Linked DNA regions of Homo sapiens: regions 2, 3, 4 and 5 are each linked to region 1. The links are contacts of gene promoters, found by promoter capture Hi-C in blood cells and fetal thymus (Javierre and others, 2016). All regions are on one chromosome and are shown on one strand. Each heading gives the region's core, a stretch centred on a gene start or on the middle of the fragment in contact. The rest is flanking DNA. Distances are from core to core; before and after follow the strand shown. Region 1 holds the start of KLHL24 (kelch like family member 24). Region 2 overlaps ATP11B (ATPase phospholipid transporting 11B (putative)). Region 3 holds the start of EIF4G1 (eukaryotic translation initiation factor 4 gamma 1). Region 4 overlaps MCCC1 (methylcrotonyl-CoA carboxylase subunit 1). Region 5 holds the start of LOC105374247 (a long non-coding RNA gene).

Region 1 (2,862 bases), core at 91-2,590:
TTCCGGTCCTCGGAGGGCAGGCCACGGTAGCCGATCTCTGCGTGCCCAGAACTGCCTGCAGGATCAGGCAGCAGCAGCGGCGGCGGCGGCCACCGAGGCTACCAGCCGCCCGCAGCAGGGGCGGGAGCGCGCGCCTCCCGCACCCGCGCCACCCGGCTCCACTCGGGCCGCAGCTGCAAAAGCAGCGACAGCGCGCGCTCCCGCGCGTCCTCCAGATCACCTTCAAGGGGGCGGGAAGAATGGCCCAGGGCAGGCCCACCTAGTGACAATAAAAACTCGCCAATAAAAACTCGAACTCTCCCTCGGGTACCGCCCACAAGCTGCCGCAGGCGCCCAATCCCCGCCGCGTTAACAGTCTTCACCCGGGGTGTCCAGAACTTGAGGGCGGGTCCATTAGGAACTAAATTAAGAAACTGAGTCCTGGAGTGGTAAGAAGGTGGGGAGGTTAGGCGGGGACTGCGCCGGCGGAACGCCCGCTCCCCCGCCCGCCCCGGCTCCCCGGGGACGGCCGCAGCGGGCCGGGTGTCGCGATCGTGGTAAACAAAGGCTCGCAGGGGACGGGGGCGGGGGTAACGGTCAGGTGACAGTGCCGAGTGCATTTCGCAATCGCTTTAATGGGGCTTCACGGGCCCGCGGCCCTGGGGACCCCACCTTGACCCCGTCATTCCTCCCGGACAGAACCGACGGTCGTCCCACCAAACAAGAAGGCTGGATTTGAGGCGGTCGCACTCCCCCGGGCTTCCTGAAATAAAAAGCAGCGCCCCGTTCGCAGCCCATCGGCAACAAGCAGCACCCGTCTGCCCAGCCGCCTCCCCCGGCGGCGCCCGGCCCCGCGGCGACTAGCCTACCGCACCTGCGGCTACCCCCAGTCCCGGCAACCACCCCGCCCTAGCCAGGCCGCACCAGCCGCGCCGCGGTTCCGGGCCGTAGTGCCAGGAGGCGCGCGCGCCCTCCCTCAGGGCTGTAGCTACCAAGCGGGGGAGGAAGACCCCCCAGGTGAACCCTGGAGGCCCCTCGCCTCAGAAAGGGGCCCTGTAGCCCAGCTGCAGCCTCTCCGCAGACCGCCAGTCTGGCTCTGAGAGGCCGGCCGCCGCTGGCTGCCCTCCCGCAGACACCCCGGTGGTCAGGACCGCCGTCGCCCCTCCGCCCCCGAGGACTCAGACTCTGACCGGTTCCTCGCCTTTCGGCCGGTCCCGGAGCTGTCACCCCCGGTACCTCTCGGCGAACACTGGAAGCAGCCAGCAGTGGCTAACCCCGCGGTCCCTCAGCGGCGGGCGGCGCAGCGCACTCTCCAGCGCCGGCGTCTCCTCCAGCCACCAGTCTCTGCCGCAGCTCACAACAAAGGAAACATGTGACCGTCCGGGCCAAAACACTGAGCGTCAGCGAACCCTGGCCAATCCGGGTGGGCGTCCTCCGCCCCGGGGAACCCTGGGAGATGTAGTTCACGCTTCCCGGTGGCCTCCGGGGCCACCTGGGGCTCCCGCCGTGGGGTGGGTGTCGGGTGCCCAAGAGGACGAGACCCACCCAAAGGGCTGCTGACTCAAAAACACCTTGTTTTAAGCAGAGACAGTTAAAAAAATGCCTCTTGTGTAAGGAGCCGAGTGAGAAGCCAGAGTCGTTTCTTTCCTTCCCTCAAAGGCCCCTGCCACGTCCCAAGGAAAAAGCCCGCGATCAGCCCTTCGACTTTAAAGCTTGGGTCGAAGCTTAGAGAGCTTTTTATTTGACCCTTTGATAGACAATCGGAAATCAGGCCTGAGGGCCTGCAGGGTGGACGAGACTAAAACCCCAGTCCTTAGAAGGAGCAAGGAAAACCACCTCTTTTTTTTTGATAAAGCTGTTACTGTCCCTGGTATCAAATCCTAGGTTACCTTTTTATTTTAAACGCACATGCACGTCGACCAAAGCTGTCACAAATCCCTGTTTTCCAAGGTAGATGGAGTTCCTAAAGGACATTGTGTTGTCGTTTTGTGTCTGCAAGCTTTTTGTTTTGTTTCGTTTTGAGACAGAGTTTCGCTCTGCCACTCAGGGTGGAGTGCAGTGGCGCAATCTCGGCCCACTGCAACCTCTGCCTCCCGGGTTCAGGCGATTCTCCCGCCTTAGCCTCCCGAGTAGCTGAGACTACAGGTGCCCGCCACCACGCCCAGGTAATGTTTTGTATTTTTAGTAGAGGCTGTGTTAGCCAGGCTGGTCTCGAACTTCTGGCCTCAAGTGATCCGCCTGCCTTGGCCTCCCACAGTGCTAGGATTACAGGCATGAGCCACTGCGCCCCGCCTGCAGGTATTCTTTTAAAGGATGATTGCAACCATTTAACTAGTTTTTGGTTTCTGATACCAAATTTAAAAATCTCTATCTTCTACATGTCATGAATACCGTCATGCCTCTATTAAATTAGGCGTTGTGTTCTGATGACCAGAGGCGGAAATAATATGGAAGGCCTATATACAGGCCTTTTAAACATACTTTTTAGGCCTCTTTTCCATCTCTTATTCAATTATTTGAGCTATTTCTTCTGGTATTTATATATTTCCAAATAATGTATGACTATTTCCTATTAAGGAAGCTATCCTTCTCATAATCTGGTTAAATCATTAATGTTTACGCTAATGAGACCATGTATTTATTATTCATTGTTGAGACAAATCGTATACAATTTCCCATCTTGTATGGCTTTTGGTTTTCCTTGGAGTTTTAATAATTATCCTCTTTCTTTGCTTATTTTATTATGGATCTATCACAATGTCCTCTTAGTTTTTCTAAAACGATAAAATGCTTTCAATACAACTCCATATAATCAAACCCATCAGATAATCCATCGTGTGTGTATGTGTGTGTGTGTGTGTGTGTGTGTGTGTGTGTGTGTGT
Region 2 (2,862 bases), core at 262-2,761, 840 kb after region 1:
CAGGAGCTCACTATTCTTTTCAGACGGTCTCACTCTGTCACCCAGGCTAGAGTGTGGTGGCATGATCATGGCTCACTGCAGCCTCAAACTACTTGGGTCAAGTGACCTTCCCACCCTAACCTTCCAAGCAGCTGAGACTACAAGTCAGTACCACAATGCCCAGCTAATTTTTTTTTCTTTCCTAGAGACAGGATCTCACTATTCTTACCAGGATACAGGAATTCACTTTTAATGTTATACAGCAGCACTAATAGAAATAGAACATGAGCAACAGATGCAAGTCACGTAGGTAACTTTAAAATTTCTAACCACTTTAAAAAAAGTAAAAAGAAACAAAATTCCAAAAATTTATTTTACTTTACCTATATATGTAAAATATTATAATATCTCAACATGTAACTAACAAAAAAATGAGAGTTCTTTTTTCTTTTTTCTTTTTTCTTTTTTGAGACAGAGTCTCCCTCTGTCACCCAGGCTAGAGTCCAGTGGCATGATCTTGGCTTACTGCAACCTTTGCCTCCCACGTTCAAGTGATTCTGCTGCTTCAGCCTCCTGAGTAGCTGGGATTACAGGTGCCCATCACCACGCCAGGCAAATTTTCGGATTTTTAGTAGAGATGAGGTTTCACCATGTTGGCCAGGCTGGTCTCGAACTCCTGACCTCAGGTGATCTGCCTGTCTCGGCCTCCCAAAGTACTGGGATTACAGGAATGAGCCACCTTGCCCGGCCAGGTTTTACATTTTTTAATACTGTTTTTGAAATCCAATGTGTATTTTATACGTAAGAATAACTCTACTCAAACTAGCCACATTCCAAATACATCAGCCAGCACAGTTTTATAGATCTGTTTTTCAGAAAATTAAAAAGAATTTGCCAGTTACAGGTACAGGAAAAAGTAGCAGAGAGGCTTGAACATGTTCACAAGTTAAGAGAAAAAGTAAAGAGAAAGAAAAGAAACATACTAATGATAACTGATGGAGTATGGACAGCAGAATGAAAGAAAAGGATCAAAAGCTTAAGTGGAATTGTTATCTTGGAAAAGAGGGTTGCATCTTCCTTGTGACTGTGAAGGGAAGAATTAAGTACCAGTATAAAATATAAGCAAGTTCGGTGAGTGTGAGGAAGAACAGAAAGTTGAGGGAGTTCAGATTAAGACCTTCTCATTTTTCTCAGTTAATCAGAAGACAATCTTAGCAGCCTCCTACCACCATCGCCAATACAATCTAAAGGGATTACATTTATGGAACAGTTTAAGAAACAGTTATCCTAGTAATACTGTTTTTGTGTAATTACTCATTTTCTAACTTTTTTCTGGGCTAGTCAATCTTAAATTTGGTCATTTTTGTCTCTAAACACAGAAACAACACTACAGATTCATTCTTTCTTTCCTCATCTATTAATTATTTGTTCAGCAACATGTATCCAATGTCTACTTATGTAGAGTATGTGTGACCCTGACCAACATTTGTATCCCTGGTATTCAGCATCTGTTAATACCAGCACACAGCAAGTGCTTTAAAAATGTAGTATTACATTCAAATATGTACTGACACAGACTTTCATTTAAAAGTCTAAATTGGTGCTGTCCAATAGAATTTTCTGTGATAATGAAAATATGAACTGTCCAATATGGCAGCCAATGGCAGCCAATAGACACATGAATTCAAATTTTAATTTTAATACCCACATATGGCTCCAATTTTAATTTTAATGGCCACTTGTGGCTAATGGCTACCGTACAGGTCTAAATATTAGAATACAGTGAGTAGCTAATGGCATTTCCATAATTATAATCAAGGTATTGTCATCTCTAATGAGTTAATACATAAAATATGGTACTGAAAATGAGTATACTTTGAATAATACTAACTGTACCACAAAGACACCATAAGAGAATTTTCTTAGTGTCAAGTAACTTTAACATTGTGTGCCAAAAAGAAAAACAAAAAAGGATATTCCAATCTTTTTATTTTCAGCCTACTTTCCCAATAGAAAAGATCAAGCTTCTGTCAACTTTCTGATTTTTCCATCTTCTCAAGTAGTGAAAATATTTTGTCATAAGGAGTCACACTTTTTTTTAATTAAAAAGAAATTACTAGAACATAGGCATTGTTTCTGTAATAAAAGGACTTTTTTGTGAGACATTAGTTGAAAATCGGGATTCATATAACGAATTAAATATGCTTATAACTCCAACCTGTCCTTAGGATTTGCTTGTCAATTTCCCCAAATTTGTCCTAGTTATCTGCATTTTAAAATAAACCCATTGCTGAAAGTCGTGGTGATTCAATCCATTAAGCCACTGGAAGTATAATCTAAACTAGCTTTTACCTGAGTTGAATAATTTCTGGTGCAGTAATCAGAATAGCTGTCTATGACTGGGATAGCAAAATATACTTTCATTACTCTGTATCCAGGGTCCTTGATGTTTAATTTATGTGATCATACAAACTTAACCAGAGACACAAAGTCCTACATTGGCCCAAGTATGATTACATACTTAGAGGATCTGATAACTTAAAACCAGTGAGGTGAGCAACTAAATGTCAGAGATAGCATTTTTTATGCACAGGAACTTGTTCAACTCGTTAACCATCCCTGTTAAGACGGCTGCCTTGTAAAATAACCACACACAACTTCCGGCCCTTCCTTTTAGCTGGGTTCATTTGAAGCCATTTTAAAAAACATTACCAGGTTTTCTGTCTTGAAGATGAGCATGGTTATACAACCAGGATTTTATTCTGGCTAAAAAATACCTAACAGTGAGAAAGGATGTCTCAATACATTTTTAAAAAAGCTTCAAGAGAACCACTTTAAAATGATCTTCCTACCACACAAAAACACCATCAGGTAAATCAGCCC
Region 3 (2,862 bases), core at 181-2,680, 680 kb before region 1:
CTTAACAATCCACATACCCCCTCCCCGTGACAGCCCCCGGGGACAGCCCAGGGGCCCTGTCTCAATTTGGCAGCAGGCGGCTGCACTTTGCCCTGACACAGATGGGGGTAGGAAGATCCAGAGGCTGGAGACTGCCTGGTCTCCCCCACCCCCACCCCTGCTAATTCCTCCCTAATTACCTGTGGGAGTCCGGGGGATGGGGCGGGTGGGGGGCCTGTGGACTGTGGAGCTTTGTTCATTTCATTTGGTGCCACATCAGGGTCCCCCCAGCACCTGTTGGGAAAGAGTGGCGCTCAGGAAGAGGAAGGGACCCAAGCTTAAGGCAAATGGGGCGGTGAAAGGGTTGATGCAAGGGCTGGGTCCCATACGGAGTCCCAGAGATGCCAAGAGGGTGAAGCAGAAAAGATACAGCCTGTCCCCACCAACATGCTGTCAAACCCGCATCACTTCCAACCAACCCCTGACCTACTGAAACAGACCCCTCACTCACCCCCTCGATTAAGAACAAGTCCACGGTGCGGCCTACAGGTTCTGGGCATCCGAGGGCCTGGGGTTGGGAGGTGAGGGTATCAACCTGGCTCCGCGGGGCCCCAGACCAACCAGACCGGAAATTCCAGGTCTCGCTGGCACCAGGCTCCCGGATCACGAACGGAGCTAGCTGCTTCGGCCGTGGCGTCCCCACCCCCCACCCGGGGACACCGGGTTCGGGCCTGGCCCAGGGGCACACAGGATACGCCTGCCGCCGGGGAACCCGCACTGGGCCAGAAGCTAGGCCTGCCGCCGCCCAGGAGTGTAGGCCAGGAAGGGCGGGAGTCAGGCCCTAAAAGGCCAGGCGGGCGGCGGCCGTCGAGGAGCCGGTTTCAGGCAAGTGAGGGTCGGCCCGGAGGGCGGGCGGGGCCGGGGGCTCCTCCCTGCCCGCCGCCACCGCCTCCCTCCCCTGCGCCCTCCCTGCGCAGCGCGGGCCAGTGCCAAAGAACAACGTGTCACTTCCCGGCGGCCTGGCCGCGAAGGGGGGAGGGGGCGGCGGGCCGGGAGCCGTGGTGCCTGCGCCCGTGGGCTGCCGGGCCTCCTCGGGTCAGGCCGAGGTGGCATTTCGCGGCGACGAACCCGGCGCCCTACCAGCCCGCGGGGCCCGCATAGTCCGGCCCTGCGCTCCCCACCCCCACCCAGCAGCCAGGCCCGGCCGGGCCAGGCACACGTGGGCCGGGGATCGGGACCCTGGCGGGCCGGGGCCCTGGGTCGGGCCGCGGGGCCAGGGCGCCGGGGCGGCGGCGCAGGGTGGCCGGTCCCGGCCCGGATGGCGGCGGATGCGGGGGGAGGGGGTGGGGGGGCCGGGTCGGGCCCGGACATGGCGGCTTTACCTTCAGTCTCCTTCAGTCCGCGCGGCCGAGCCCCACGCAGCCGCACAGACGTAGTCCACAACCATTTCCGGCTCCCCGCACAGATCCCGCTCGGCGGCCACCGCTTCTCCGCAGGCGCAGCCGGCGCCCCCACGTGACCGGCGCAGGGGGCGGAGCCGCGCCGGGCGATCTGCGCCGCCGAGCACATGGGATTTGCCCCCGCCCCGTCACGTGACAGCCACAGCCCGCCCCCGTGTCCCCTCCCGAACTTTGAAACTCCCAGACCGATTCCCCTCTGTGTTTCTCTCTGTTCCGCGATTCTTTAGTTCATTCATATTTTAAGCAACCATTTATTGAGTGCATGCTAAGTACAAGGCGAAGTGCTGGTTGAGGGCTGAGAAACTGAAATCAAAGTCTCGGCAAAAAAAAAAAAAAAATAAGCGGGGCGCGGTGGCTCACACCTTAATCCCAGTACTTTGGGAGGCCGAGGTGGGCGGATCACGAGGTCAAGAGATCGAGACCATCCTGGCCAACATGGTGAAACCCCGTCTTTACTAAAAATACAAAAATTAGCCGGGCGTGGTGGCGCACCCGTAGTCCCAGCTACTTGGGAGGCTGAGGCAGGAGAATTGTTTGAGCCCGGGAGGCAGAGGTTGCAGTGAGCGGAGATTGTGCCACTGCACTCTAGCCTAGCCTGGCGACAGGGCGAGACTCCATCTCAAAAAAAAAAAAGAAAGAAATTAAAGACTCCGTCCTGCCTAAGTAAATCGTGATACAATACGAATTATGCAGGCTTTGAAAATAATTTAGATTAGGTCATTGAAAGGCCAATAACAAAGGAAATTAAAAGGATAGAAACATTCTAATTAGGCAAGTAGTATGAGATTTGTAGTTTAAAAAGATCATGGGCCGGGCGCAGTGGCTCACGCCTGTAATCCCAGCACTTTGGGAGGCCGAGGCGGGCGGATCACGGGGTCAGGAGATCTAGACCATCCTGGCCAACATGGTGAAACCCCGTCTCTACTAAAATACAAAAAATTAGCTGGGCCTGGTGGCGCACGCCTGTAGTCCTAGCTACTCGGTAGGCAGAGGCAGAGAATTGCTTGAACCCGGGAGGCGGAGGTTGCAGTGAGCCGAAATTACGCCACTGCACTCTAGCCTGGCGACAGGGTGAGACTCCATCTCAAAAAAAAAAAAAAAGAAAGAAAAAAAGAAATTAAAGACTCAGTCCTGCCTAAGTAAATCGTGATACAACACGAATTATGCAGGCTTTGAAAAGAATTTAGATTAGGTCCTTGAAAGGCCTATAACAAAGGAAATTAAAAGGATAGAAACATTCTAACTAGGCAAGTAGTATGAGATTTGTCGTTTAAAAAGTTAGAAACATTCTAACTAGGCAAGTAGTATGAGATTTGTCGTTTAAAAGGATCATGGGCCGGGCGCGGTGGTTCACGCCTGTAATCCCAGCACTTTGGAAGGCCGAGGCGGGCGGATCACGGGGTCAGGGCGGATCACGGGGTCA
Region 4 (2,862 bases), core at 186-2,685, 550 kb after region 1:
AAAGCTTTTTAACCTCTCACAGGCCCTTTGAAATCTGTGCCCAGCTTTCTGTCCAGCATCCTCTCTGGCCCCTGGACCCCTTGCTCATTGTGTTCCAGCCACACAAGCCTTCTTCGGTCACTCAGCTGGACCAGTTTTCCTCCCACCTTTATGTAGGTTGTTTTCTGTGCCTGAGAGCCTCATCCTCAGCTCCATTCCTGTTCTCAGCTCCACATTCTTGATCTGTTTGCCAGGCAAAGTCTTGATCATCCTTTTTTTTTTTTTTTTTTTTGAGAAGGAGTCTCGCCCTGTTGCCCAGGCTGGAGTTCAGTGGCGCAATCTCGGCTCACTACAAGCTCCGCCTCCCTGTTCACGCCATTCTCCTGCCTCAGCCTCCCGAGTAGCTGGGACTACGGGTGCCGACCACCACGCCCAGCTAATTTTTTTTTGTATTTTTAGTAGAAATGGGGTTTCACTGTGTTAGCCAGGACGGTCTCAATCTCCTGACCTCATGATCCGCCCGCCTTGGCCTTGCTGGGATTACAGGCGTGAGCCACCATGCCCGGCCAGTCTTGATCATCCTTGAGGAGCCTCCCCTGACTTCCCTTCTAGGCATTTCCTGATCACCTTCAGACCAGATCAGGCCTTCCTCCTACAGCATTTATGCCCTTGGTTTTTCCTCCATGACGTTCATCACAGTTGTCATTAAGTGTGTGAATGTATTTTTAATGTCTGTCTCTCCCCCTAGACAGGGACATTTGTCTTGTTCACTATGGTACAGGCAGCTCCCACCTCAAAGTGTGGCACGTAGTAGGCCTTCAGTAAGTCTTGGAATGAATGAATGATGTGCTCTAAATGGTCTACTTCAAGGGATGCTATGATTTTGTGTAAGTTTTAAGGAATAATATAAAATAATTCACAAATGTATGAAAGCATTATCATACTCTGATAATTATATAAACTTTAATCAACTTTGTAAGCTTTTTTCTTTGTGTACATCTGTCACATATTTTGTTTCTATTATCAAATATAAATTTTTGGCCTTGAATACATTTAAGGTTATTATTGTTTTAGTAATAATATCATGACTAATGTCTGTTGCTTTTTATCCTGAGACACTTTAGTTTCACACCAGTGTGTGGCTTATGCATGAAAACCAAGTTTTGTTACCCTCTTCATGCAAAAGATTCTAAGACTGGCTTATTTTTATAGTGTAGACATACATTGGTACTTCAGTTTTTCAATTCTTGCACTGTTCTTGAGGGAGTGGCATTTTTATTTACAATAATAAAATGACCCTGAAGCAGTTCTGTATAGTGTATGAGTATGTACTAGCCACAAAGTCTTTTAAGCATGTGATGTTTCTTAAACAGGCAGATGAAGCATATTCCATCGGCCCCGCTCCCTCCCAGCAGAGCTACCTATCTATGGAGAAAATCATTCAAGTGGCCAAGACCTCTGCTGCACAGGTGAGGGTTGTGAAGAGATTTGCAGTGCAAAAGGAATACGTTTTGTGCAACTGATGCAAAGTTACTTATAGAAATTTTCTATTTTTAGCCTTTCCCAAGATCTTTACATTTGATTATTGGATTATCATTGTAAACTAGGCATGTCCCATCTCATTTCTCAGCCAGTCTGCCTTTTTACTGGATCCTGTGTACTTTAGATCCTTTGGGAAATAGGTGGAAAGAGGGTCTAAATTACAAGTTAAAATTAGGAGAGAATTCAGCTCTTCTATCCTCAAAACTACAAGCTCAAATCCTTTGGGAGAAATAGGTAGGTAGGGCTCTGAATTACAAGGTAAAATATAAGCAAGAAAGAAATATATTTCCACCCCAACTTCCCAGTCTCATTCTAGGGCCACGTAGGGAACTTAAGGAAGACGATTCAGGCAAATGGAATTGCCAAGACTCTGAGATGAAAACAAGCTTGGTGTTCAAGGGAGAAGAATGTTCAGTGTGGTTGGAGTGAAGGCAGTAAGGGGCTGTGTCATTCAGGTATAGTCAGTAAAACCAAAATTCCATTTGACGTTTCAGCAGAAGGAACTTAGTTTAGGAATTAGTTCCACCAGTGTTAGAGAGCTGAAGGCAGGGTGGGGATGTTGAAATTACCCTTTAATAATAACAGAAATTGAAAACCACCCTTTGGGCTGAAGGAGAGACTGGGGGAGGGACTTTCTGCAGCTGTTCTCAGATCTGTGGAGGGGCCCTGCCTGGCTGCCGAGGGCTTAATGAGGCTGGTTCTTGGAGTTCCAAAAGAACCTGAAGACTGGAACCAATGGCCGCTTCCCGGCGGTGAGGAGAAGGAAAGCTTCCTTGTTCAAGTTTCCCTACAGTGACCCCTACTGGTGAAACCTAACAGGAAGCCCACTGGCAAACAGGCAGAGCCCCTTCACAAGGCACCACGTAGAAGGCTGGATTTGCAGCTGGGAGAACCATCTTACAGGAAGAAAGTGGTAGGAGACGATGGAGCAGAGAGAGGTAGGGGTAGCATCATTTAGAACATTCTTTTTTTTTTTTTTTTTTTTTTTTAAAGACAGGGTCTTTGCTCTGTTGCCCAGGCTGCAGTGCAGTGGCACAATCATGGCTCGCTGCAGCTTCCAACACCCAGGCTCAAGTGATCCTCCCACTTCAGCCTCCCAGGTAGCTGGGACCACAGGCGCATGCCATCACACCTGGCTAATTTTTTATTTTTTGTAGGGATGGGCTTTCTCCATGTTGCCCAGGCTGGTGTTGAACTCCTAGGCTCAAGCGATCTGCCTGCCTCAGTTCCCAAAGTGAGAACATTATAGGTCTTGATAAGGAGTTTGTATTTCATTCTGAGTAGCCATTGGGAGGTTTTTTAAAGCTGGGGAGTAAAGCCATCTGCTTTACTTTTTAATAA
Region 5 (2,862 bases), core at 214-2,713, 530 kb after region 1:
CCCCCAGTATTTTCTTCAGTCAGATTTAAACATTACTTCTTGTTAAAGTCATGTCTGTTTCTTGTAGAACTTTGCGAAGTGCAGAAAATTATTCAGAAGTAATGTTGAGAAGGAGTGGTGGAGAATGAAACACAATTCTACCTCTCGGAGACAAAACCATATGGAATGTCAAAAAAAAATATTTACAGTGAGGAAACCTGGCAGACACCAATTTAATCAAGTGATAAAGTTAACATCATGGAACAAACTCACATTTTGTAGCTCCAGATATGATGCACTGAAATGGGTATGACATCACTTCTGTGGTATTCCTGCCAAAAGGGAGGAATCTAATTACCTAAATCTAATAACCTAAATCTAATCATGAGGAAATACCAGATGAACAGGTTAAAGAAAAATAAAATTGGAGGCCACAGTTTGGATATTTCCCTAGGCCAACAACCCACAGCCATGTGTAGTCAAAACCTAAACTATCCTGATTTCCCTGAAAATGCTAGCCCTAACCATAACACACTTTTTCTTCCTTGTCAGCGTAATAACATTAAGCCAATACAAACAAGCTTATGCAGCTTTATTTGCACAACAGAGATCAACGTACTTCCTCATTTAGGAAGCTGCACAGAGGTCTCTAGTTTGGGAACTGTTATTTTGTATGCTCAATAATCTTTTTGAGAATTTAAATTTAATCTGATTTTATTTTTGGCAAACCCAAATTCAAGGATATTGTACAAAACAACTGGCCTGTATTCATAAAAAATATCAGCATCATCAGCATCTTTTTAAAAACGGAGGAATCAGGCTGGGTGCAGTGGCTCACACCTGTAATCCCAGCACTTTGGGAGACTGAGGCGGGCGGATCACTTGAGGTCAGGAGTTTGAGACCAGCCTGGCCAACATGGTGAAACCTCCGTTTCTACAAAAAAGAAAGAAAAGAAAACTAGCCAGGCGTGGTGGCATGCGCCTGTAATCCCAGCTACTTGGGAGGCTGAGGCATGAGAATCACTTGAATACAGGAGGCAGAGGTTGCAGTAAGCCAAGATTACACCACTGCACTCCAGCCTGGGTGACAGAGTGAGACTTCATTTCAACAACAACAACAACAACAACAACAAATAATAATAATAATAATAATAATAAAAACAAAACAGAGGAATCAATACAAATTAAGTGACCTAAGAGTCAATGCAATGTGTACTACAGTGTTTTCTTTTTCTTTTTCTTTTTCTTTTTTTTTTTTTGAGATGGAGTTTCGCTCTTGTTGCCCAGGCTGGAGTGCAAAGGCACGATCTCAGCTCACTGCAACCTCCACCTCCTGGGTTCAAGCGATTCTCCTGCCCCAGCCTCCCCAGTAGCTGGGACTACAGGTGCATGCCACCATGCCCAGCTAATTTTTTTTTTATTCTTAGTAGAGATGGGGTTTCACCATGTTGGCCAGGCTGGTCTCAAACTCCTGACCTCAAATGATCCGTCCGCCTCAGCCTCCCAAAGTGCTGGGATTACAGGCGTGAGCCACTGCGCCTGGCCACTACAGTGTTTTCTTTTGGAACAATTGTTGAAAGTCAAAGTAGGTCTGTAGAATAAATAATAGTATGTATCAGTGTTAACTTCACAATCTTCAAAAATATTCTGTGGGCAAGTGATAAAATCTCCTTGTTTTAGGAAATATGCAGTGACATAGTTAGAGGTAAAAAAAAAGGCATCATGTCTGCAGCCTGCTTTCAAATGGTTCCAAAAGAAAATGTGAGTGTATGCATGTGTGAGTGTGTGTGTGTACACATATATATCTATATCTGCATGAGGAGAGGGAGAGAGAGAAAGATAAAGCAAATGCGATAAAATAGAAACATTTGGGCTGGGCGTGGTGACTCATGCCTGTAATCCCAGCACTTTGGGAGGCTAAGGTGGGTGGATCACCTGAGGTCAGGAGTTTGAGATCAGCCTGGCCGACACGGTGAAACTCCGTCTCTACTAAAAATACAAAAATTAGCCTGGTATGGTGGAGCGCCTGCAATCCCAGCTACTCAGGAGGCTGAGGCAGTAGAATCGCTTGAACCTGGGAGGCTGAGGTTGCAGTGAGCTGAGATTGCACCCCTGCACTCCAGCCTGGGCGACAGAGCGAGACTCTGTTTCAAAAAAGAAAGAAAGAAAGAAAGAAAGAAAGAAAAGAACAAAGAAACATTTGGGAAATCTAGGTGAAGGGTACTATTCTTGCAGCTTTTCTGTAAGTTTGAAGTTATAGCAAAACAAAACATTTTAAAATTATGTGTTTTTCTATAGTATCAGCCTAAATAAGGAACAGAGAGAGGCTCTATAAAAGAAAAAGATATTTATTTTGGAATAAGCCATTGCAATGGGAGTAAGCTTTTTAAAGGAAAACATGAGGAGTATTATGTAATTGTTTTGAAATAATTATCCTTGGCTACAAAGATGAATAACATGGGTGATGCCAGTCCAGGGTTCCATAGGCAGTTGCTGGACACATGTTCTTGCAGAAGTATTTTTTGTGTAAGGTTGTGATGGCCTTTGTGCAAGGTTGTAGTTTTGGTAGTCTTTTTTTTTTTTTTTACGGACTCTCTGTTGCTCAGGCTGGAGTGTAATGGCGCGATCTGGGCTCACTGCAACCTCCCCCTCCCAGGTTCAAGTGATTCTCCTGCTTCAACCTCCTGAGTAGCTGGGATTATAGGCACCAGCCACCATGTCCGGCTAATATTTGTATTTTTTAGTAGAGACAGGGTTTCACCATGTTGGCCAGGCTGGTCTTGAACTCCTGACCTCGTGATCCACCTGCCTCAGCCTCCCAAAATGCTGGGATTACAGGCGTGAGCCACTGCACCAGGCCAATTTTGGCAGTCTTTTGTGACA

What was found. Contacts are between HindIII fragments. The CHiCAGO score rates a contact against its expected background, and 5 or more counts as called.
Region 2: a fragment that was not itself captured here is called in contact with the fragment with the promoter of KLHL24 in region 1 in 2 of 17 cell types (fetal thymus and total B cells); the score reaches 9.3 in fetal thymus.
Region 3: a contact is called between the fragment with the promoter of EIF4G1 here and the fragment with the promoter of KLHL24 in region 1, in 1 of 17 cell types (total CD8 T cells). The highest score is 5.0, in total CD8 T cells.
Region 4: a fragment that was not itself captured here is called in contact with the fragment with the promoter of KLHL24 in region 1 in 1 of 17 cell types (naive CD8 T cells); the score reaches 5.1 in naive CD8 T cells.
Region 5: a fragment that was not itself captured here is called in contact with the fragment with the promoter of KLHL24 in region 1 in 3 of 17 cell types (fetal thymus, M2 macrophages and monocytes); the score reaches 5.8 in fetal thymus.

The regions. Positions count from the first base shown.
Region 1 is chr3:183,634,101-183,636,962 of GRCh38, reverse strand. It overlaps KLHL24 (kelch like family member 24), which reads right to left and starts at 1,340. Exons shown (of 8, transcript NM_017644.3): 1 at 1,170-1,340. LOC107986162 (a long non-coding RNA gene) reads left to right here and starts at 354. Exons shown (of 2, transcript XR_001741042.2): 1 at 354-428; 2 at 679-2,800. RefSeq lists silencers at 1-264, 315-634, 825-894, 905-1,014 and an enhancer at 1,435-1,494. The HindIII fragment of the contact is 5,143 bases long and covers 1-1,693 here.
Region 2 is chr3:182,795,293-182,798,154 of GRCh38, reverse strand. All of the region lies in intron 1 of ATP11B (ATPase phospholipid transporting 11B (putative)), which reads right to left. Among named protein-coding and RNA genes, the nearest start is that of ATP11B, 3.2 kb to the right of the region's middle. The HindIII fragment of the contact is 989 bases long and covers 1,017-2,005 here.
Region 3 is chr3:184,313,174-184,316,035 of GRCh38, reverse strand. It overlaps EIF4G1 (eukaryotic translation initiation factor 4 gamma 1), which reads right to left and starts at 1,430. Exons shown (of 33, transcript NM_198241.3): 1 at 1,362-1,430; 2 at 491-547; 3 at 180-273. The coding sequence starts at 239. RefSeq lists enhancers at 161-782, 1,507-2,007 and silencers at 620-1,329, 1,350-1,679. The HindIII fragment of the contact is 4,143 bases long and covers 319-2,862 here.
Region 4 is chr3:183,085,279-183,088,140 of GRCh38, reverse strand. It overlaps MCCC1 (methylcrotonyl-CoA carboxylase subunit 1), which reads left to right. Exons shown (of 19, transcript NM_020166.5): 4 at 1,353-1,448. Among named protein-coding and RNA genes, the nearest start is that of MCCC1, 13 kb to the left of the region's middle. The HindIII fragment of the contact is 948 bases long and covers 962-1,909 here.
Region 5 is chr3:183,105,785-183,108,646 of GRCh38, reverse strand. LOC105374247 (a long non-coding RNA gene) reads right to left here and starts at 422. Exons shown (of 3, transcript XR_924772.3): 1 at 253-422. It also overlaps a transcript of MCCC1 not described here. The HindIII fragment of the contact is 1,801 bases long and covers 563-2,363 here.